Linked DNA regions of Homo sapiens: regions 1, 2, 4, 5 and 6 are each linked to region 3. The links are contacts of gene promoters, found by promoter capture Hi-C in blood cells and fetal thymus (Javierre and others, 2016). All regions are on one chromosome and are shown on one strand. The core of a region is centred on a gene start or on the middle of the fragment in contact, and the rest is flanking DNA. Distances in the headings are between cores, read along the strand shown.

Region 1 (3,353 bases), core at 349-2,848, 720 kb before region 3:
GTCCAAAACACATTGATCGAGGATGAACACATTTGGACATACTGTAATTTAGGGGTACAGCTATTGCATCACTATTCACTTTGGCCTCGGTTCAATGTAAGGCTATTACAAATTAAAGTTTGTCTCTGCTATCAAGGTGATGTGTTATCCTGAGCAGTAATGTGAGTCTCAAAAGTAGCTTACAGGTTGTCTTGAAGAGGTCTTTCCCTGACATTGCCAATGTGAGTCACAAGTCACAGAAGTTTAAAACTGGGCCTGTGATACAGAAAGGGAAAGCAGAAAGTGGTGGTGAAAACTTGACAGATTGCTGCTTTTAGAAATCAGCAGAGATTGGATTAGACCTGAAATCCTGGTACAAAGAACAGGATTTTAAGATCAGAAGAAATTCTGGCCCAGTTCAAAACCATTGATGTGGGAGAAATTGTTGGAAGTTGTATAAATTTTGGGAGCATCATGGGAAGTTAGGGAATCTACATCAGAAAATAGAGCATGTCTAGCCAGAGAAGAGGGCCCAGATGAGAGGGAAGTTAGCAGCAATTAGAAAACATGAGTAAATATTGAAGAAACTGGGGCTAAATAAAGAGGTTTATGACAGGATTTACAAATGTCTGAAAAGCTGAATTGTAAGCAAAGAGCCAAAAACATAAAAACTAATATTCCCTGTTTTGAGAGTTTTTCTGGTTGGACCCAAAGGGCAGACCCAGGAGTAAAGCAAGATATTTATAGGGAGATATAATTTAGTTAAAACAAGAAAGGCCTTTCTAAGAATTTGGTTCTCTAAAATCGAGTGGTGTACTTCAGGAGAAACTATATGAATAGTTTACAGTCTCAGGGAGAGTGGTAAAGCAGATCTAGATCATGTGGGTTGGGGAGAAGGGCGAGGGACAGTCAAGCATCAGAGCACGTTGAATTTCGTGACTTCTAAGGTCTTTCCAATCCTTTGAGTTAGCAAATGACCTGGCTTGATCCGAATCCAAACATGAGGCCATGCCTACCTCATGTGTCACTATTCTGTGAACCATTGTTTTCTCTAGATACTTTGGCAATGTAGATTAAATACAGCTTTCATTTGATTCACATATTTACCTAAAATATGTATATATAATGCTATTGATAGTGACAGGAGGCAGCCAAATGCATAGGCAGATAGGGGTGGGTACCCAGTAAAACCCCACCTCTAGTCCAAAGATGTTTTAAAGCCTGAAAGCCAAGCCAAAACTTAAATACTCAGAACAGATTAAGAATTTGTCTTCCTGTTTGGCATGCTTTCCTCTGATTGATCTCCCCTCTTCACCTATTTTACATATACCTACCCTTTCCTAATTGGTTTTCTATACTGTCATTCCCACCTTTGAGTGGTGTCTTTGCTTTAAATTTTTGTGCACACTCACAAACCGTCAGCATGCTCTACCCGTCCTGTCCTATAAAGACCACAGGCTCAGTCAGTAGAGGAGAATATGGCCTAACTTCAGGAAAGGAGATGGCTTGACTTCAGGGAAGGAACAATCTGACTCTGGGGAAGACAACCTGCGCTTCCCATCCTCTCTCCACCAACCCTCTACACTGAGAACCATTTTTACTGCTCAAGAAAATTCTCCACCTTCACCATCCTTCAACCATCCATGTGACCTCATTCTTCTTAGATGCTGGACAAGAGCTCAAGACCCACTGAGTGTGGGTACCCAGAAAGGCTGTCACACTGGCCCTTTGCTATCACTGGTAGAGGGCAGCTACCTCTCATGATGAGGCAAGGGGCCAAATGAGCTGCTAACACACCGCCGTCCAAGGACAGTAGAACTAAAGGAGCACTGTAACACCCCCTCTGGGACTTTGGAGTCACAGGTACCCTCACCTGGACACCACCACGTTCCCCTCAAGGCGACATGCCTGGTCTGACCACAGGCCCTGCATGGAGCTTGCTCCTGTGTCAGTGCCTGGAGCAGCCAGCTGGGTCCCGCATTTGCTCTCTCACATGCTCCCTCCCATAAAGGAGCACAGCAGGCCAAGCAGAGAGGGGCACTCTTGCTCTGAGTCCAGTGAGGGGGCCAAGAAAAATTCTGCATCACTCTAACAATTCATAATTTGGACATCTTTTTTCTACAGGTAGAAATCTTTATAGAAATCTCAGCAGGAGATAGGTATAACCTAATTCATCAGCTATTTTTATCACATGATACAAGTGTCAAGTTAATAAAATGTAGAATTTGAATCTTATGGATGGCATAGGGTTTCCATTTCATTAGAATGTTTCCATTTAAATTCCTAAATAATCCTTAAAATAGCTGGTTACTGGGTTTTGAATTGAGCCGTGGCTTGGACGTTGAGTTGCATTCCAGTATCATACAATTTCCCTTCCCTGTATCTCCTGCCTAATCCAGCATAGGAGGTTCTTATGAGGCTGGTAGGGAAGAAGAGATTTGGCTTACTTAGGAAGCTACTAGTAGCATCCAATCTACATGGATTGCCTTCCTGTGCTTTAAACCACGGTAATCCACATGCCATCTGGCCTACACTTGTAAGGGAATAGTATTCTTTTGCCATTCTAGGCTGTGCATGGCAAAAGTCTTAAATTGTGTTGATTCATTTCAGCCTCTGTTTCTACCTTTTTGATATTCCACTCCGGCCCTTATGTGATTGCTTACTTTTGACTTCCTTTACTGATTCAGGTTCTTCATCCTTTTAACTATGGATATTTTTCAGGGTCAGAATCTGCACTTGGTCTTGGGTACTCTTGCTCCTGGCTGCTCATCTACATTATCAACACCTGGTTTGAGTCACTATCCTATTTGACCAGTCCCTGGATCTACTTCTTGGTTTACATTAAATACTCATCAGGATGGACATACAGTGGTCTCCTTCCAAATTATTATAAGTGAAGCTCAGAGATTCAGGTGTTTCTAAATGCTGAATAATAACAGATCATGTGTTTAACTTGGAATTCTTACAATAAGCTGATAGTTCTGGGTGCTTTATTTGAGTGTGATTTTCCTGGGTCCCCTTATCTACCAGATTAATATCTTACTCTATAATATTTTGGAGACCTTCATCATGCTTTGACTGAATGTCAAAAGAATTTGACCAAGAACAATGATACGACCAGCTCTGGCATGAATGTGACCATTTATCTAAGCCAAGCACACAAAGCAGGGTTAGTTTTTGAAACTGACTCACAGATTTAGGAGAAAATTTAAGTGGGTATCATTTTATCTGAAACTCTATCAGACAAATGCTTAAGCACAATATTTTCCTAGGAGAAATAATGTATTTTGAGAATACTGAGATAAGAATTTAATGAAAATTAAGGTAAAATAGAAAATCTTAATTTAAGTATTTATACAATTACAGGGAAATTT
Region 2 (3,545 bases), core at 404-2,903, 670 kb before region 3:
GAGAAAAAAATTGAAGTATTAGTGCTATCCCAAGGAGACTAGGTTTTCTAAATTTCTGATATCCTCATTGATCCCAGTCTTAAGCAAGCTATATATGTATGAAGTCTATATAGAGAGATGTGTTTGTGTGTAATGTTCTGGCACATATTTTCATCGTATTCTTGTACTCTACACTATCAAATGGGTAAGCTGAGGCATGGCATAGTTAAATGATAACATCTTAGAATCTGTGACAGATTTGGAATTCAATGGCAGATTTGGTCCTGTATCCAAACCTACTTTCTGTGACCTCATATGTTCCCTTTGAATCAGGCCTAAGAATAGTCTTGACACCACAGAGAGCACCCTCCCTGGCCATGTGATAACCAGGGCAAGGAAAAGCCAGGCTCACCTTGAGAGGAATGTGGCTCTGCACCAGGTATTTCAGGGTCACTCAGCAGGTTTATTTTTGCTATTCTGCTGGCCTTTCCTCCCTGGCCATGGCCCAGAACACTCCAGGCTCTGTCATCGTTTTGCACCGCACAGAGCAGCCCATTGGCCTTAATACCTGAAGCCACAGCTGTATTTCAGGACCTGTTATAATCAACCTCAGGCTTCCTAAGGCATTGCTTTTCCTCTCTGCCTTCTACAAAAGGTGACAGATGGCACTATTACATCACATTCAGCTTTTGGGGGAAGTAAGCTTAATAAACTATGCAATAATCTCTATCAGAGCCCAAGAAAACAATGGGCCAGGGAGTCAGAGATCAGCTGCCCAATTTCTCAAAAAGGAAATAGATTGATTCCAGTAAATCTAGCCCTGCGAAGACAAGGAAACGTGGTATTCTTTATCACCCCCATTCAGCAACACCAGCAATTTGAGCTTTGCATTTTCCTATTATGTTACCTGGAAAGTCACTAGTAAATACAGATGGATATTAAAATAGTTTGTGTTCAGGATAACATAAAGTAATGTAATAATATGAACAAGAGTAGATTAAATGTAAATGTAATAAAATCACAGTGCCAACACTCTGTCATAAGACACGGAAAGGAGCACAACATACTTGACATGTTTTCAGGGTAGGCATTGCAAATCCTCAAATTACAAAATTTTTCTGTATTATGATGTGTCTTGGATAATTAGAGAAAACATAATTTGAGATCAGAAAACTTGAATTTTAATCCTGGCTTTGCCACTAGTTAGTGTTAACCTAAATAACAGACAGAGAGAGACTCTCTAAAACAGAATGATATTTATTCAGTAATGGTTATTGCAATGAAAATACCCATTCCATAGTAAACTGTATGTGTATTCAAGGAGGTAAAGGAAGACAAAGTTTTTTCTTAAAAAAAAAGTTACGTAGCTCTTTTGAGAAAATTATCCTTGGCTATAAGGATCAGCAACAAGTATGATGTCAGTTTGATGTTGGACAGGCAATTGTTGGGCAAATGACCTGGTGAGTTTTGTTTTTTTTGTTTGTGTGTTTGTAAGGTTGCAATGGCCTTTGTGCAAGGTTGTGGTGTTTGCAGAGTCTTTTGTGGTAGCCTTGTTATCAGGCATTCACGCATGAGAAACCTTTTTCATGGCCTTCCTTGGCCCTATTTGTCTGTTTTTAACACAAGTGATTCCATTTGCATTCACTTTCACATTAGCTATCTTCTCTTTGGCAAATCACTTATCTTTCTTGGTACTTCAGTATCTTTGCTACAGAATGGGAAGAAAGAGTTCTCACTAGATGATCTACAAGATCCCTTCCAATTCTGAATTTTTTTATTCATATGTAACCCACCAAGGCTTCACCATCCTGCAAATATAAATGAGGTCATGTATATGCTGACATTGCAGTTACGTAAACTTATTAGCCTCCATTTGCTGAACTGCGGGCCCTCAGCACCCATGCTATTTTCTGCAAAGTTAGCCCCAGCTATTTCTGGCTAAGGTGGCATAGCAAGTGTTGGTTGGGTTCTATCTTGATCCTCTGAAGTTTCTTTTACTGTTTCTGTGTGTCCACCCCCAACTTCTGAGAGCTTTGTTTCTAAGGTGTAACACCTGCAGTTTTCTTCAGAGTACTATATCCTTGGGCTAGCTGAGCTCTTTTGCCTGCTCACCAAATGCCCGGAGGCCTTGAGACAATGGCTGACTTAAATTAGTGAGGCAGTTTCAGAGCCCAACTCCCTTGTTGCAAAAAAGCACAAACTCTGTGGTGTCAGGAGCCTTCTGTGAGGGTCCTCATCCTCATCCTGAAGACCCTCACAGAACCTCACCTGAGATCCTTTTCGCCCTGTTTTTCCTATTCTCTGGGATGTTTCATGGATGCTTTGGAAAAATCCCCCTTTCTCTTCTCAGCTGGCATTCTCCTGGATGTTTTCTGTCTGCAAGCCACTTGAGGGCTGTGCCTTGTGGGGTCATGGCTGGAGGTGACCTCACTGGGCACACTGCTACTCTACCAAGGATGTGGCCTTCCAGGGCATCCCCAGACGGCAAATATGCCAGATATCAAGGGGCACTGCCTCCTCTCCAGCCCTCTTTGTACCACTTGAATCATGGGGAGCTCTTGTCAGAAATGGGATGTGTTTTTCTCCAGTTGTGTTCTGTTTTGCTATCTACACTCAGAGCTGAGCTGCTGGTTCTCTGCATTTCATAAAGCTTCCTGTGTAATTCAGATCTCTCTCTTTAGTGTGCTCCTATTAGTGGTCAAGCCTAGTCACTGAGAGGAGGCAGGAAAAAAGAAACATCATCCTCGTTTCTCCATCTTCCCATCTCTGTCCTCTACATGCTACGTTTTGCAGGTAGATTCCTGAAGAGCTACTGGCATCACGTTCAATCTAATTTCTTGTTGCTAACATTTGAAATCATCTTCTAGATGTAGATAGATCAGAACTCAAAATCTAGCACTTCATGGTCTCTCTCTAATGCTGTCTTATCACCAAGACAATCAACTTCATAAAAATGGTCCACCCAAAACAGGTGAGTGGAAAAACCACTTCATTTATAGGACAGCTACATTTTTTTTAATCTGCTAATATAAAGTGATGAGTAACTAATTTATTTTCATAGATTTTACCTTAAATCCTCATCCGGATGTACATTTCCTTTTTTGTTACATTCTTCAAGAATCCATGAAGTAATAATATTCATTAATTTTATATTTGTTACTCGATAATGACAAACAAATGTTCATTGAGCATCTCCAGGAGGACATTTTAATTTATCTAGTACTGAAATAATACCAATAGTCCTATTTGTTCTGGGGCTCCTCAGACAAACTTGGGCAAGGTAGAAGACATCCAGGTTAGTGGTACAAAACCTAGATTAGAAATAGCACCATTAGGCAGGGTGCAGTGGCTCACACGTGTAACCTCAGCACTTTGGGAGGCCGAGGAGGACTGATCACCTGAGGTCAGGGGTTTGAGACCAGCCTGGATCAACATGGTAAAAACCTTTCTCTATCAAAAAAATACAAAAATTAGCTGAGTGTGGAAGCTGAGGTGGGAGGATGGCTTGAACCTGAAAGGCAGAGGTTGCAGTGAGCCAAGATTGCACCACCGCACTCCAGCCTGGG
Region 3 (3,428 bases), core at 441-2,940:
GGCCGCTGCCTCCGAGTTCAGCTTCACGAAGCTGATGGTCTTGCTGGTCAGGCAAAGGCGGTAGATACCAATCAGGTTCTTTGTCTGACCCAGGCCCTTGGGCTTCAGGATCACTTGCCAGACCTCTTTGAATGCGGGTCCTGGGGGCACGTCACCGTAGCTCAAGTCCTCCCCAGCCTCACCAAGGCCGGAGCTGCCGCTGCAGCTGCCCCCACCACCTCCCGCCCCGAGGGCCGCAGCTCCGTCGTGGTGGCCCTTAGCACGGTTGTGCAGCTGTAGGAGAGCCTGGTACCAGCTGTCTTGCTCGGCCTCGCTGTCCGCCGCGATGGCAAAGTGCTCGTCCCGGGTGTAGAGAGCCACCAGGTGCTTGTTCTTGGAGTCAGCCCGCTTGTTGATGTTGAAGCAGCTCTCAAGGGGGATCGAGCGTTTGGGGGCGCTCGACTTGTGCCGCCACTTCTTCTCGTTCTCGTAGTACTCGAGGCGCGCCGGGCCCCCAGCCTCGCTGGCCGCGCGCAGTACGAAGAAGCGTTTGTGCATGCTCTTGGGTTTGCGCAGGTAGCCCACCTTGCGCACGTCCGAGAAGCCATCGCTCTCCGGAGGGCTCGCCATGCTGCCACCGCCACCACCAACGCTGAGCAGAGGGAGGCTCCGAAAAACAACCGGGTGGGGGGCGGAGGCTCCTCGCCGCGGCCCGGCACATGCAAACAGGGCTGGAGGCAGCAGAAACCCCGACTCTGAAATCCACGCCGCCCCCCGCGCCGGGGAGGGGCAGCTGAAGGAGGACGCAGCTGCTGAGCCCAGGAGAGAGCCCGACCGGAGTTTTCGGGCGCTTCACGCCCGGCGGGGAGGCAGTGCGTCCGGGGTGAGGGCAGCCCCGATCCTCCGAGAGCCAAGTCTCCTCTCAGCCGCCGCCGCCACCAGGAAGGAGCGAAGATGCATCTCTCGTCGCCCCGGCTGGAGTCCGGCACAGGGAGGCGACAGTCGGGGGTCCCTGCGGTGCCCCTCCAGGAGCGCGCGCGCGCGCGCGCCTTCCCTCCTGAGTTCCCCTCTGGAAGCAGCGATTCCCGAGGCAAATTAAATATCCTTGGGCAGGGGGAGGCGGGTTGCCAAGTCCCAACGTTGCACGGGGTTCTCCCTCCTCCTTCGCCTCCTCCCACCCCCCAACCGTCCCAGCCGCCACCAGCCGCCCAAATACCAGCTCAGTCGCAGAGACCGCGGCGCTGCGGCTGTTGCTGTTGCTGCTGCTGCTGCTGCTGCTGCTGCCGCCGCCCGCGGGCGCGTCCTCTGCAGCCCCCATCCGGGCCCATCTCGGCGGGTGGAGAAAGTGGCTTTTCCATGCGAAACGATACCGGGCAGCCACTGCAGCTGGGGACCGGCCGGAGGGACAGACTCATCCCTGCCCCTCGCTCCAGGCGGCTGGGGAGGAGGGGAGGGGACAAGGGCGAGAGGGGATGGGGGAGGTTTGGGAAGGGTTCGGGGAAGACGCCTGTTCCTCGGGAGGCGCTGCCGCTGCAGTTACTTCTCCCCTCCTCCCTCCTCCTCCTCCTCCTCGGAGAGTTGCCGAGAGCCCCAACCAAAACAAGCGGCGGCGTCTGGCTCTGCGCGCCGGCCCCCTCCGACCGCGCCGCCGTCTCACTCGGAGGAGAAAAACACGTGACGGAGCCTCCGCGCTCGGCAGCCGGGCAGCCGCCGCCGGGAGGCTCCCGCCCGGGTCTCTACATTCCGGGCCGAGCCCGCCCCGCGCCCGCCCCTCTCCGCCCCCCAGCCGTGCTGCAGCGGCGCCCGCGCCGACCCCGGCGCAGCGCTAGGACAGCGCCCCTGCGCGGCCGCCAGCTCCGGCGCAGCGCCTCCCTACACGCGCGCCAACCGGGGCGCCCCCGGCCCGCAGGAATCCCCGCGGCGGGCGCAGGCGGGGGTGTTTGGGTGGCTACCCGAAAGCACGAGGGGAGTCTGGGAAAACGGGAGGGGGCGAGCTCGGGAAGACGCAGGAGTGAGGGTGGGGGGCCACGGGGGGGCACTGCGGCTACAGAGCCCCGAGTGGGAGGCCGGGGGGAGGCGGGGGCGCCGGAGCTGGGCTGCCTCTTACCTATCAGGTAAGACTGACCCACGGGAGGGAGGTTTCTAGTCAAGGCTGTTTCCCCCAGGAAATTTAAAAGCTAGATTTCGGCTTCAGGGCGATAGGCCATGGTGAGGGGATCTGTATTTTTTAAGGTTTTTCTAAAGGACTTCTGGGCCAGCCTTCCACCTTGGGATCCCCAGATTTGCTGCCGTGAGGTACCTGGAAGGAACAGAGGGACGCCCAAGGGCAGTGACTGGGGGCAGTTATGGTCACTACAAAAGGAGAACAGGGATCCCCAGGAAGTGTCTCACGTCCGGCGCTGTGGAATTAGTTGCTGATCAAGTAGGGAGAAAATGTAAATATCACCTTTTCTCCTGCTCCCCTTGCCCATCCGTGTGACGGGGGGACTCACACCTAAGGCTGAGGGCATGGGGGAGGGGAAATGAGAGGTCCCTTATCATATTCCGAAGTCTATCCGTGACTTTAAAAAGCTGTTAGGGACCTTCAGAGGGTTCATAAGGCCAAAACCCTACTGTGCAAATATTGGCTGAAATGTTTGTTTCACACACAGCTCCCACACCCATTGAACCACCCTATAAGTTTTTAACCTTGACCACAAGGATAACAGGGAGAAAACAAGGATGGTGCCAGCTCAACTGTACAGGAAAATGGTTACTTCATGAGTGGACCAGATCAGCAGCCTGGGTCTACTTGAAGCGCCCCTTTCAGGGTCACCTTGCGGTATCAGTCTCCCCACAAACAAACGCTCCCCAGAGTTTTTTTATTTTTTAAGCCGACCTATAAACAAGCAGTTTGTCCCTGCTTGCTCGCCTGGCACTAAGGACCCACAGAGATGTCACTCGGTTTAATGCTGTCTCATTTTGATGCCTGGCCCGTTTGGGGTTGCCGCCCCTTTACTACGCCGGGACCCTCCTCGGCCTCAGGCTCCCAGGCACTGCAGGATGCTGGCTGGGCACTCAGCAGTCGAGGCGCTGGGCATGCTCAGTGGCTGGGACCCGGCGGGCCGCGGGGGAGCGCGCCTCGGCCCAATGCGGCTGAGGGGCGGAGCGAGTTTCCCGGGGAGGCCTGCTGATTGGTGGGATGGCCTGTTTTTCAAGCCTTGCACTGCAGAGGGAAGGTGGGGGTAGAAGGGTTGAGGGTACCAAGGTAGGTTGCAAAGCGTAGTAAAAAAAGAAAAAGAAGATGATGATGATGAAGGAGAAAAAGAACCATAGGCGCCATTCAGGGGTGTGCGATACGTAAATTAGGGGGATTGGGCATCTGCAGAGGGGCTCCTCCCCACCCAAGCCTGGGAGCCTCTCGTTTCTCCTCTCCCCTTCCTGTTCCCGGTCGTCATGCAGCCTCATCT
Region 4 (3,693 bases), core at 700-3,199, 740 kb before region 3:
TAATTAAATTGCAAGAAAAAATTCAGTATTTTTATCTTCTTTGAAACACTGATTAGTATATTTTAAATTGGAATTGCAATTAATATGACTCTTAGATGTGTAGAGGAAAGAAGAGAAAAAATGCTTTATATAAATTAAGAGAATCTGTTTAAAATAAAGTAATTGTTACCATGCAGAAGGTGGTTTTAAATAATAGGCAGATGCACAAACTTTATTTTTACTGTAAAAGACAAAGTCAATTATAAAACGCTGGTATAAATCCAAAGCCCTAAGGACTTGTTTGCTAATGTAATATTGGAATCCTAAAATAGAAAGAAAGTCCATTGGGAAACTTTACTGCCAGAGACTTAGCCTCTGAAAATCAACTGATTGTAAGAGAACTTATGGTTCCAACTGAATAGAAGTAGTCAAAAACTGAGCCCAGGACCAGCTACATAATTTGCAAGGCCCAGTGCAAGACGAAAATGCTGAGCCCTTGTTCACAAATTAAAAATTTCAAGATGATGACAGCAGAGCATTAAACTAAAGCCCAGTGCAGGGCCCTGCGTGAGACTACACATCCGTGACATGAGTCCTGCCAAGGCCTTTCAAGCCCAGAGCTCTCTAGAATCAGATATCATGATTTATTTGATACCTTAGGTGCCAATGGAAAATTTAAGTTTCCATTATAAAGACCTTAAGAATGATATTGATGAAAAGATTTAATAGCTGACTTATAACCATTTGTTTGTGTATGTTATGGAAGAATCAAGTATCTACATCCTTGGTAGGCCTAAAGATGAAAAAGAAGGCATTAAGGAAATTTTTACAAGTTCTTGACCATGGCACATAATCTTTTTCACTACGACCTTTTCCAACTATGGACAGCAATTGCCTAGCAAGATGCAGGTCAATGCTAAAGTCAGTAGTTAGGAAGAGGGTACTCTGTAGAAGTAAGCCTTAAAAAGTGTTTGACAACAAGATGGTATAAAATATTAAGCCGTGGACATGAAGGTTTCATGGTAGGACTCCTAGAGGATTCTGAAACCAAGCAAAGTTAAAAAAAAAAAAAAAAAGAAAGAAAGGAATGATTAAATCTGGGGAGAAAGCTAGCATTTGCTTGAGTTGTTAATTGGTAAGCATGAGAGTTAATAACAAGTCATCGTCTTCCCTTGATTTTAGGGCCTTGTTTCAGAAGTACCGTGTGTTAAGTATTAATAGACAAGGGATCTCATTTCAACCCAAAATTTTATAGGCATATATTCATGGATATACACACATCCACATGCATATATGTTAACCTATGTGGCCACAGCCAAGGCAGTTACCATCTGTGGCAGTGTACATTTGTTGGAAGATGAGATTTTCAGTTAGAAATATTATAATTTTATCACATCACATCTACATTTACAAAAGTAAATATGATAATGAAAAAATCTTCTTGAATTAGAATGGATTCAAATAACCCCCATAATTTCTAAAATTTAAGATATAAGCTTCTTTCATCCAAATAATCTGCTTTTGTTATACAGAATTATGTGGAATGGATTTGGCTGACTTACTTGGGTACATCTTCATTTTTTTCCCCAAAGTTTACAAATAAGAGTTAATAAGAAAAAAACTCTAATGTACTTACAGTGATTTTTAAAAATGTACTCCACTCTTCTCATCCACAGCCTATATTTTCCTGATTTAGAATCTAAATTGGATTTGAGAAATAGTCATACTTATATGGAGAGAAGTAGTAATTTTATATTTATTCACTATAGTACACCAGGAACTATGCTTAACACTCTCCATCCATGGTATTTTTTTAATCTTCAAAATATTTCTGAGATGGGTAAAATTTCCGTTTTACAAATAAGGAAACAGAGGTCCACAGATATTATAAAACCTGCCCAAAGTCTCACAGCTACTACATAATTTAAGAAAAATATTTGGCTGTAAAAGAGACCAAAAAATACTTAAACAAATGAGGGTTGACATTTTTCTTTTGTAACAAGAAGTCTGGAAACAGGTATTTAAGACTTGGGAACATCAACTGGAAAGCCCTATGATTCTTTTGGTTGTTAAATTATTGTTTCAAGATGGCTGCTCCAACCCTAGTGGCAAGTTAGTAGTCCAGGCTGGAAGGAGGCAGAAGGGAAGTGCCAATGGCTGAATAGGCTCTTAAGCACTGTTTTTTCAGAAATCCAAGTCAACAAGTGCAAGGTGGATTTTATTCACCCATTATGCAAATAAGTCTAAGAAATGCAAGTTTGTTTGTTTGCATGTTTGTTTATTTTCTAAATGGGGCTTATTGCTGCCCCTTTCAAAATCAAATTTATTAGAAAGGAGAAAAGTAGCTACTGGGTAGAAAACCATCAGTCTGGCAACTGCTTGATGCCCTTTCCTCTTGGAATTTTTCTACCTAGGAAGGATTCCCAGCCCAGAAGTGGTGATAAGGAAGCTTCCTTCTTCTTCAATCTTTACCATCTCTTCCATTTGGGAAAAGGAGATGGGAATCACATTTGTTCCCAGTGCTGTGGGTGCTTCCAAAGAAAAACAATGCCTTCTTTCTCTTCTCTCTCTTTTTTTATTTTTCTGCTCACAAAAGGAACAAGCTCATGAAACTGGATGTTAAATTGAACCAAGCCAACAATAGAAGGGATAAGGCAGGCATGCTTATAAGTAATTCAAAGTAGGTGACCGAGAGCAGTGAGAATATAAAATGTATATCTTCTATACGAAATACATAAGATGATCAAGGCAATGATGATCAGAACAGATCTTTCCTTTTCAAAGAAATTATTGGGTAATTGGCAGAGTGCTGTGAGTCCATCTTCCAACCCAACTCTTTGCCCCTCATTACAAGACATAAGCTTCAATATAGCCAGGAGTTTGGTGGTATATAGTGGACGTGTGCCTGACAAAAGCCGAAAGAGTCTAAAGGCAAGAATCTACAGCTATTAGTTGTAAACTGTAGGACATAAAAAGAGTGCTCAGCTATGTTTGAGTTAGCTACAATTCTACAATAATTCAGGAGTTTTTCTTATTGTCTACAGATGGACCATGCAAGGACAGAGACACCTGACATTCTCTAAAAAGACCATCTTAAAGAATGATAGGACCAACAGTGAGACATGATGTAAAAGGACTGTCAGAAACCAGAGGCTAATGGGAGTCCAGAGGACGAGATAAAGTTGCAACACCTGTATCATAGAAAGCACAGTTGACTACTCCAGTGGAAATGCTGAGAAACTCAGGAAAGCTCCCATGATAGGTGGAGACAGTTTTAAAAATCTGCCAAGACCTCAGAGCATGAAGCATGTTCTCATTATCAGTTACATAAGAACCTTCTTTATCTCTTGTCCCTCCCCTTAACTCCTCCCCCACTGTTAATCTTGAAGCCATTCACAACAGCAGCCAAGGAGTGGTGAGGAGGTGAGCAATAAAGAGAGAAGGTGCTTAGCTTTTGGAAAAGGCAGGACTACAGGCTACCAGCTCAGGATAGGTGAAGTGAAAATCTTTCCCTTCAATAAATATTGGATTATAAATTAACATGTTATATTGAGCAATTGCAATTAGGTTGGTGCAAAAATAATTGCATTTTTGCCATTAAAACTAATAGCAGTCTCAATACTAAATTAAGACTGTTTGCCACTGAAAGAAGCCATAGGATCTTTGATTACATAAGATAAGAGTGAGCGTAAGAGGCATGCACTTGCCTGAGTT
Region 5 (3,364 bases), core at 365-2,864, 640 kb before region 3:
TTTTTAAAAAAACCTATATTTATTTTTACTTTTTATTGTTACTTTTTCTTGTTGTCCTCCTTAAGACTTTGAGAGGATTCTTCGGTTACAAGCTTACTTTACATGTTTTCTATTTTTCTGTATGGGTCATTCAACTTATACAGAATTTGACACTGTGAATTTTCCTCTGAATACTTCAGACAGATTTTCTGGGTTTTAATATGTGCTATTTCCTTTATCATAAATAACTTGTTCTTTTTATTACTAGTCACCTCAATTTGTACACTCCCATTCCCCCCCCCCCAACCGCCAAATAATAAAATGTTTCCCTGATTAAAAAAAAAACAACAACAACAAATTTCCAAGGCACTTATGGCTGGGGTGCCAGCCTTTATATAGAAACTCAGAAACCACCAATAACTAGGCATAACTAGGAAAAGAAAATTAATCACCACAGAGCTGAAACTCCCTGACTAGACAATTTTCTAACACTGTTGATTTTCCTCCTAAGTCACTTTTCCTATTTTAGCACGGTAAGCAGCTTTTCACAAGGGATCTGTAGTGTTGTATTCAAACAAGCACGGCTGTATGAAACACTTCCTCTCTAGCTGGAACGTGTCAATCATTTCATGTAATTAATTTCCTAATGATCCTGAAACATTTGCTTTCTACCTGAATGATCTCATTCTGGTACCAGGCAATTTTCTGGAGCATTTTAAATGTAAAGTTTGTAGGTAAACCCAAGTAAATACATTGTAGACAACTTGCAGAGGAAAAACTCAGGATCAAACCTTTTCCCAATGAAGTGTATAATATTTTCTTTGACGGAAGCAAAGTGATATATAGCGTGCCACAACTAAACTGTAAAAATACCACGACCTTTCATCAGTCTCAATTATTAGGAGTAATAGCCTCAGGCTGAAACTACTTGAGAATCCCTGATGATATTTAAGACAGAAAAACTACAGAATCTAATGCAAAGTCCACGGCCAAACTGTGCTGGGATAGGGTTGCCTAGTGGTCCATTCATCATTTTTTTTTTCTGCTTACACTGGGGCTGACATCTACTTATTAAGTCTTTCCCTGGGTCATTTCACACTGCTGGAGAGGCAAAGTAGAAATCCCATCAGGAGGCCTGCATTTCCAGAGGGAAGGGAGGGATTTTATTTTTGGTGCCATCATTATCTTATTAGGCAAAAGGAAAACTGTTGGTCCTGATAGATCCCTTCCTGTTCTTTCAAAAGTCATATCCAGTGTAGATGAGTGCCCCAATGCACAGGAAAGTGCTAGGAGAAATAAAACAAAAAACTGCTGTCCTGTGAAATAGTAATATTTTTCAATAGCTAGGGACCACGCCTTGCTGATGAGGGAAGCCAGGCTGAACTGAGCATTGTAAACAGACTGTGACAATCTACCGGAAGAAAAGAAGGGATGGGAGGAATCAGTAAACAAGATTCAAGGAATGGGTAAATCTTTCATTAAATACTATGGACTAAACCTCCTCAGTGGAGAGACTAGCAATATTTCACTGAAACAGGCAGTGACAATATGCAAGCAGATTGCTTTTTATCCAGGATGGAATTCAGAAACCTTTGTTTTCCCTGTTCTCTGACATGTGGCACTTTACTTAACTAGGAATTTATGAAACAAACTGCAGCAGTATTTGCAACACCTCCAACTGTGTCACCAACGGAAATCATGTATGTCATATCACATATCACATTTCAATTGTAGGAGATATTATGGAATACCATTTTCATGGACCAATACTTCTAAAATATAATGTTCTTGGCCCTGACACTAACTCTTATTATATAATAAAGAAACACATTTTGTTCATGCCAAGTGAAGGCAAAACAAAAAAAAGAAGGAAAAAAGAGAAACAGACATTACTATATCACTTTTTAATTATTTTATAACTATACTTCAATATAATTTATTTCCTTTAGGATCATGTGCATTTTATTTTATGCATTTGAAAAACTTTTTTTTTCCTCAGAAGGAGGTCTATAGGCTTTACCATACTGCAAAGTCCATAGCACAAAGAGCTTAAGAATGTTTGCCTTATTCTAAATTTATATTCATTAGGCAAAATCACTCCCCTCATTCCTTCAGGGTTTGTGTGTGTGTGATCTCAGTACACAAGTATAGACACATTCAGATCACTGTGATGAACCCAGTCAATTTCAAAGATGGTTTTTCCTATTACCAAAAGTCTAGATGCAACAATGGCATCTAAATACAATGACATTTAAAATCATCTTAAGATGTGTTTTTAAATATGTCAAATATTATTATGACATATTATGTTTTTAAATATGTCTAAATATATAAGTTAGTCAAGGATGGAGGCTCAAAATAGACCTAAGACCCTTCCTAGGCCTCCTATCAGTCTGTAGAAACCTTGGCTCAGGAGAGAAAGGTTAAGAACTGGATTTTACTTCCCTTATAGTAATCTCTGAGTTACTGGTGAGCAATCCCACCACACGCTCACCCCAGAATAAATATCCTAGGTCATGAACAACTAGATGTGTAATGAGATTCAACAGGGACAGTCTGTGAGGGGTGGGCAGTCACGAGGGGTGAATGGAAGGTGGTAGTCTGCATCATTGCAGCACAGTCTTTTTTTTTTTTTCATGGAAACCTCTGCACAAACCAGGTAGGCATTTACAAAGCAAGAGGCAGCTTGAAACACTTGCCAGGCCCAGAGAGTGCAACACCGTCATACAGCAATGCTGGTCAAGGGATATCTTCCTTTCACCTTTATTTTTGCCCTCAGTTCCGCCACACTCCTGCTGCTAGGGTGGATCAGAACCCAGTCTCAGTATGATGGGGAGAGAGAGAGATGGAGGTAATGAGGACCACATCTCCATTCCTGGCTTCTTGTTTGAGGCAGGCTCCAACTGGAGGAGTTGAGAAAATTTAACTTTAATCAAGTTTGGAGTTTTGCATATTAAATGCATTTGGACATTCTAATTTCTGAACGAAGATTCTGTTTGGTGACTTAAGAATCCATGGTACTTATTTGCATAGTCATCTCATGCCCCAAGATATAGCTCAGGCAGAGAAAGAAATCCCTTCAATGAATTTTAAAGAGACAGAATACAAAATTAAGTGGCATTATGGTTACACTCCACGAATCCTATACATTCCTAATGAAGCTTATACTGATTTTTGTCTTTTTTCTCAGCTGTACAAAACTTCTTCTGTGTTTAGTTTGCTTTATCCCAGATCCCCAGTCAGTTCCTAGTGTTCATTCCCAGGTTTGTTCTTGTCCAGAAAGCCTCCTCAGTTCATTCCCTTGCAATATAAACCCTGCCTACCCATCTGGTCTGGCTCAAACCCATTGCTTCAGCTATGTTTTATTTAAATGCACAGTCCACAT
Region 6 (3,308 bases), core at 404-2,903, 790 kb before region 3:
GCAGACGGAGGAGGGGCAGGTGGTGGGGAAGAGCAGTGAATAACATTCTAGGGTGAGGACAGACATTTGGAAGGGCAGTTGGCTGGGACAGTCTGTGGCTGGAGAATAAGATGCAACTGACATAACGGTGTGGGATGAGGCTGGAGACGTTGGCCAGGGGCTGCTCATGCATGAAGGGCCTTGTGTGCCATGCCAGGGAGTTTGAATTTACAGTAAACAACATTTTACCCACTGCAGGATTTTTTTTTTTTTTTTTTTTTGAGATGAAATCTCACTCTGTCACCCAGGCTGGAGTGCAGTGGCATGATCTCGGCTCACTGCAACCTCCGCCTCCCGGTTCAAGTGATTCTTGTGCCTCAGCCTCTTGAGTACCTGGGACTACAGGTGCGCACCATGCCCACCTAATTTTTTATATTTTTAGTAGAGACGGGGTTTCATCATGTTGGCCAGGCTGGTCTCGAACTTCTGACCTCAAGTGATCTGTCCACCTCCGCCTTCCAAAGTGCTGTGATTACAGGAGTGAGCCACCGTGCCCGGCCCCCACTGCAGGATTTTAAGCAGAAATGTGACACTGTTAGATTTGTATTGTATTGTATTGTATTTATTTATTTAATTATTTTTGAGACAGAGTCTCGCTCTGTCACCCAGGCTTGAGGAGTGCAGTGGCACAATCTCAGCTCACTTCAACTTCTACCTCCCAGGTTCAAGTGATTCTCCTGCATCAGCCTCCTGAGTAGCTGGGATTACAGGCATGTGCCACCATGACTGGCTAATTTTTGTATTTTTATTAGAGATGGAGTTTCACCATGTTGGCCAGGCTGGTCTCAAACTCCTTGGTTCAAGTGATCCTCCCGCCTCAGACTCCCAAAGGGCTTACAGTTGTGAGCCACCAGGCATGGCTAGGTTTGCATTTTAGAGAGACCTTTGTAGCCACTATGCTGAACATGCAATAAGGGCTGTATGTCTGGTGGGCTACGTGCCTCATGAGGAGGCTCAAAGGCTAGTGAGTAGTGAGTATCTGAAGTGGGAGCAGATGGTGGAGGAGATGGGTGGGACTGGATCCATTCACCTGGGTATCTATGAGAACATGAGTATTGAAGTAAGGAGTAGAGGAAAGAAATTGTGATTCCTGGGTTTCCCTGACTGGAGTGTCTGAAAGGGTGGTGGCTCATTTATTTAAATAGAACATATAAGAGGAGGAGAGAGTTTTAGGGAAAACACGATGATTTCATTTTTTTCATTAAATCCCATTATGAGAAATTTAGAGAATGGAAATTGCTAAACGGCTGTTCTGTCTTTTGGAATTAGCTGTGTAAGACCAAATTACAGTAATTCATAACTATAATCATTCTAAATCCACTTGATTTTAATATGTTTCAAATATTTTTTACTGTGTAATTTACAAGAAAATTGTTCTATATTAAAATGGTCATTTTCTGTAATTGCATATTACCAAATCAGGATAGACTATGAACAGAAATGCATTTGGGCAAATTTGCAAGGCAGTATTAGCTAGAATTGCTGAAGTAGGTTATTGCTGAGCTCTCCTGGGTAGGATAGTACAGAAGATACCAGGGATGTCTGGTTTTTTGATTGTTCATTTACACTGATAAACACAGTGAATTTAAATCATCATTATTGATGAACCTCTCTCTTTTTTCTCTCTCATTGAGATATTAAATGTAAATACTTCATAGATGACCTGATTCAAAAGAATGTTTTCAAGTTGTCTTTGACAACGACAATTTTAACTGGAAAGCACAGTGCAGAAGAGGTTTCCAAAAAAAAACTTGCTCAAATATAGATAGAAAATGCATGTCGAAATAAGATTTACTAAGCCACTGGAAAATGGTTTAAAATATATGTAAATATCAACTTTGTTTTTGCAAATACCATTGGTTAGAATATGTGAACAGATGATTATTTTCAAACGCTCCCCACAAAAAGACAATGCAGACAACAATACTGAATGGAAACATGCATACATCCTCATTTTCATCTTAAGGAGCTAAATAAGCAATATTCTCATATCCCTTAAAAACATTCAGCAACATGAGCCATATACCAATTTTATAATAAAACTGTAAGATTGTTAATATATCAGGTGATAAAATTATTCACGAAGTGTATATTGCTGGTGAAACCAGTCTTCAGAAATATGTTTATATAGATATGCAAATAGGAAAAAAATAAGTAAATATTAGTTGTTGGAACTGTACCAAGTATAAGTGGAAAGAGGCTAAATGTGTGAAGGCAAACTATCAAACACAGTATAAACTCCTAGTGTTAATTTACTTGTAAGAAAATGTTGTATTTATACCCAGGAAAATGGGCATATAGGGAAAAAATCATTGGGCCACTCTGCAGTATCACTTTGGATGAAAGAAAATACTTTATTATAAGTCAACGGAATAGAATCATTACAATATCATCTTGGGTTTTACATTCTAATCCTAGAATTATGCAGAACAGCAATAGGAAGTTTTCTTTCCCAGTAGTAGTAGAAAGTGTGAAAGATGGTAATTTCTCATCTTCTGTAAAAATGATTTTTAAAAATTAAAAAATAATTTCAAGGGGCTTTTTATTTTTGTCTACAGGTTGAAGTAGTTTAGTTTCTTCCATCTGATAAAATTGAGAATATTTACATTCATTTTCAAATTTTAAAAAACTTTGTATTATAAATAAATATATAATAACAAATGTCCCGGAACCTCAGAATATGTACTAGCATCCAACTAATATTAAATTTGATAGTATATATATATGCATTTAAAAAATTATTCACAAAGTAGCATATGACCTATTGGAGGATCAGATTTAACCTAATCTTCTGACATTTTCCCCAAGCAACTTGTAGACTGGATTAGATTTTTTTTTTTGAAAAAACTGAAGGGTGACTCAAATTATTACTAGCTTTTTAAAATAATGGAATAATGAAAAATACATTCTACAGGGCACAGCATTAAGAAAAGTCAAGTAGTACAGGAAGTAACCGCAGCATTTACTAACATGCTCAGCCAAGAACATAATTGCCAAAATAACCTTGAAAAGGGGCGAAAGTACTGAATACTGCAGTGGTGATTATGCTGATTTCAATTACTCTGGTTTAAATGGAATGAAATAAGGCTCTAACTCCGTTAATTAACAAGCCTATCCACAGGTGATCTCTAAATGCTTTGCGTATAACTCCTATTAATGCAGAAAACGTACATGCCTAGAAATGGCACGTCTGCATATTAAACCCAATTATGCAGTTTACAAGAGAACTGGCGTTCTTTTACTTTTCCACATGAAAATTATAGTGAAGA

The links. Contacts are between HindIII fragments. The CHiCAGO score rates a contact against its expected background, and 5 or more counts as called.
Region 1: a fragment that was not itself captured here is called in contact with the fragment with the promoter of IRS1 in region 3 in 1 of 17 cell types (M0 macrophages); the score reaches 5.4 in M0 macrophages.
Region 2: a contact is called between a fragment that was not itself captured here and the fragment with the promoter of IRS1 in region 3, in 3 of 17 cell types (M2 macrophages, M0 macrophages and M1 macrophages). The highest score is 10.4, in M2 macrophages.
Region 4: a fragment that was not itself captured here is called in contact with the fragment with the promoter of IRS1 in region 3 in 3 of 17 cell types (M2 macrophages, monocytes and M1 macrophages); the score reaches 5.8 in M2 macrophages.
Region 5: a contact is called between a fragment that was not itself captured here and the fragment with the promoter of IRS1 in region 3, in 1 of 17 cell types (M1 macrophages). The highest score is 5.2, in M1 macrophages.
Region 6: a fragment that was not itself captured here is called in contact with the fragment with the promoter of IRS1 in region 3 in 1 of 17 cell types (M2 macrophages); the score reaches 6.4 in M2 macrophages.

What each region holds. Positions count from the first base shown.
Region 1 is chr2:226,073,629-226,076,981 of GRCh38, forward strand. No RefSeq gene overlaps it. Among named protein-coding and RNA genes, the nearest start is that of MIR5702, 580 kb to the right of the region's middle. The HindIII fragment of the contact is 3,937 bases long and covers 1-3,353 here.
Region 2 is chr2:226,131,011-226,134,555 of GRCh38, forward strand. No RefSeq gene overlaps it. Among named protein-coding and RNA genes, the nearest start is that of MIR5702, 530 kb to the right of the region's middle. The HindIII fragment of the contact is 1,947 bases long and covers 681-2,627 here.
Region 3 is chr2:226,798,130-226,801,557 of GRCh38, forward strand. It overlaps IRS1 (insulin receptor substrate 1), which reads right to left and starts at 1,691. Exons shown (of 2, transcript NM_005544.3): 1 at 1-1,691. The coding sequence starts at 609. It also overlaps a transcript of RHBDD1 not described here. RefSeq lists silencers at 510-559, 1,550-1,969, 1,990-2,059, 3,020-3,229. The HindIII fragment of the contact is 8,747 bases long and covers 1-3,428 here.
Region 4 is chr2:226,054,229-226,057,921 of GRCh38, forward strand. No RefSeq gene overlaps it. Among named protein-coding and RNA genes, the nearest start is that of MIR5702, 600 kb to the right of the region's middle. The HindIII fragment of the contact is 953 bases long and covers 1,474-2,426 here.
Region 5 is chr2:226,154,288-226,157,651 of GRCh38, forward strand. The region is part of intron 2 of LOC646736 (a long non-coding RNA gene); the gene reads left to right. Among named protein-coding and RNA genes, the nearest start is that of MIR5702, 500 kb to the right of the region's middle. The HindIII fragment of the contact is 3,048 bases long and covers 91-3,138 here.
Region 6 is chr2:226,008,859-226,012,166 of GRCh38, forward strand. No RefSeq gene overlaps it. Among named protein-coding and RNA genes, the nearest start is that of NYAP2, 610 kb to the left of the region's middle. The HindIII fragment of the contact is 4,284 bases long and covers 1-3,308 here.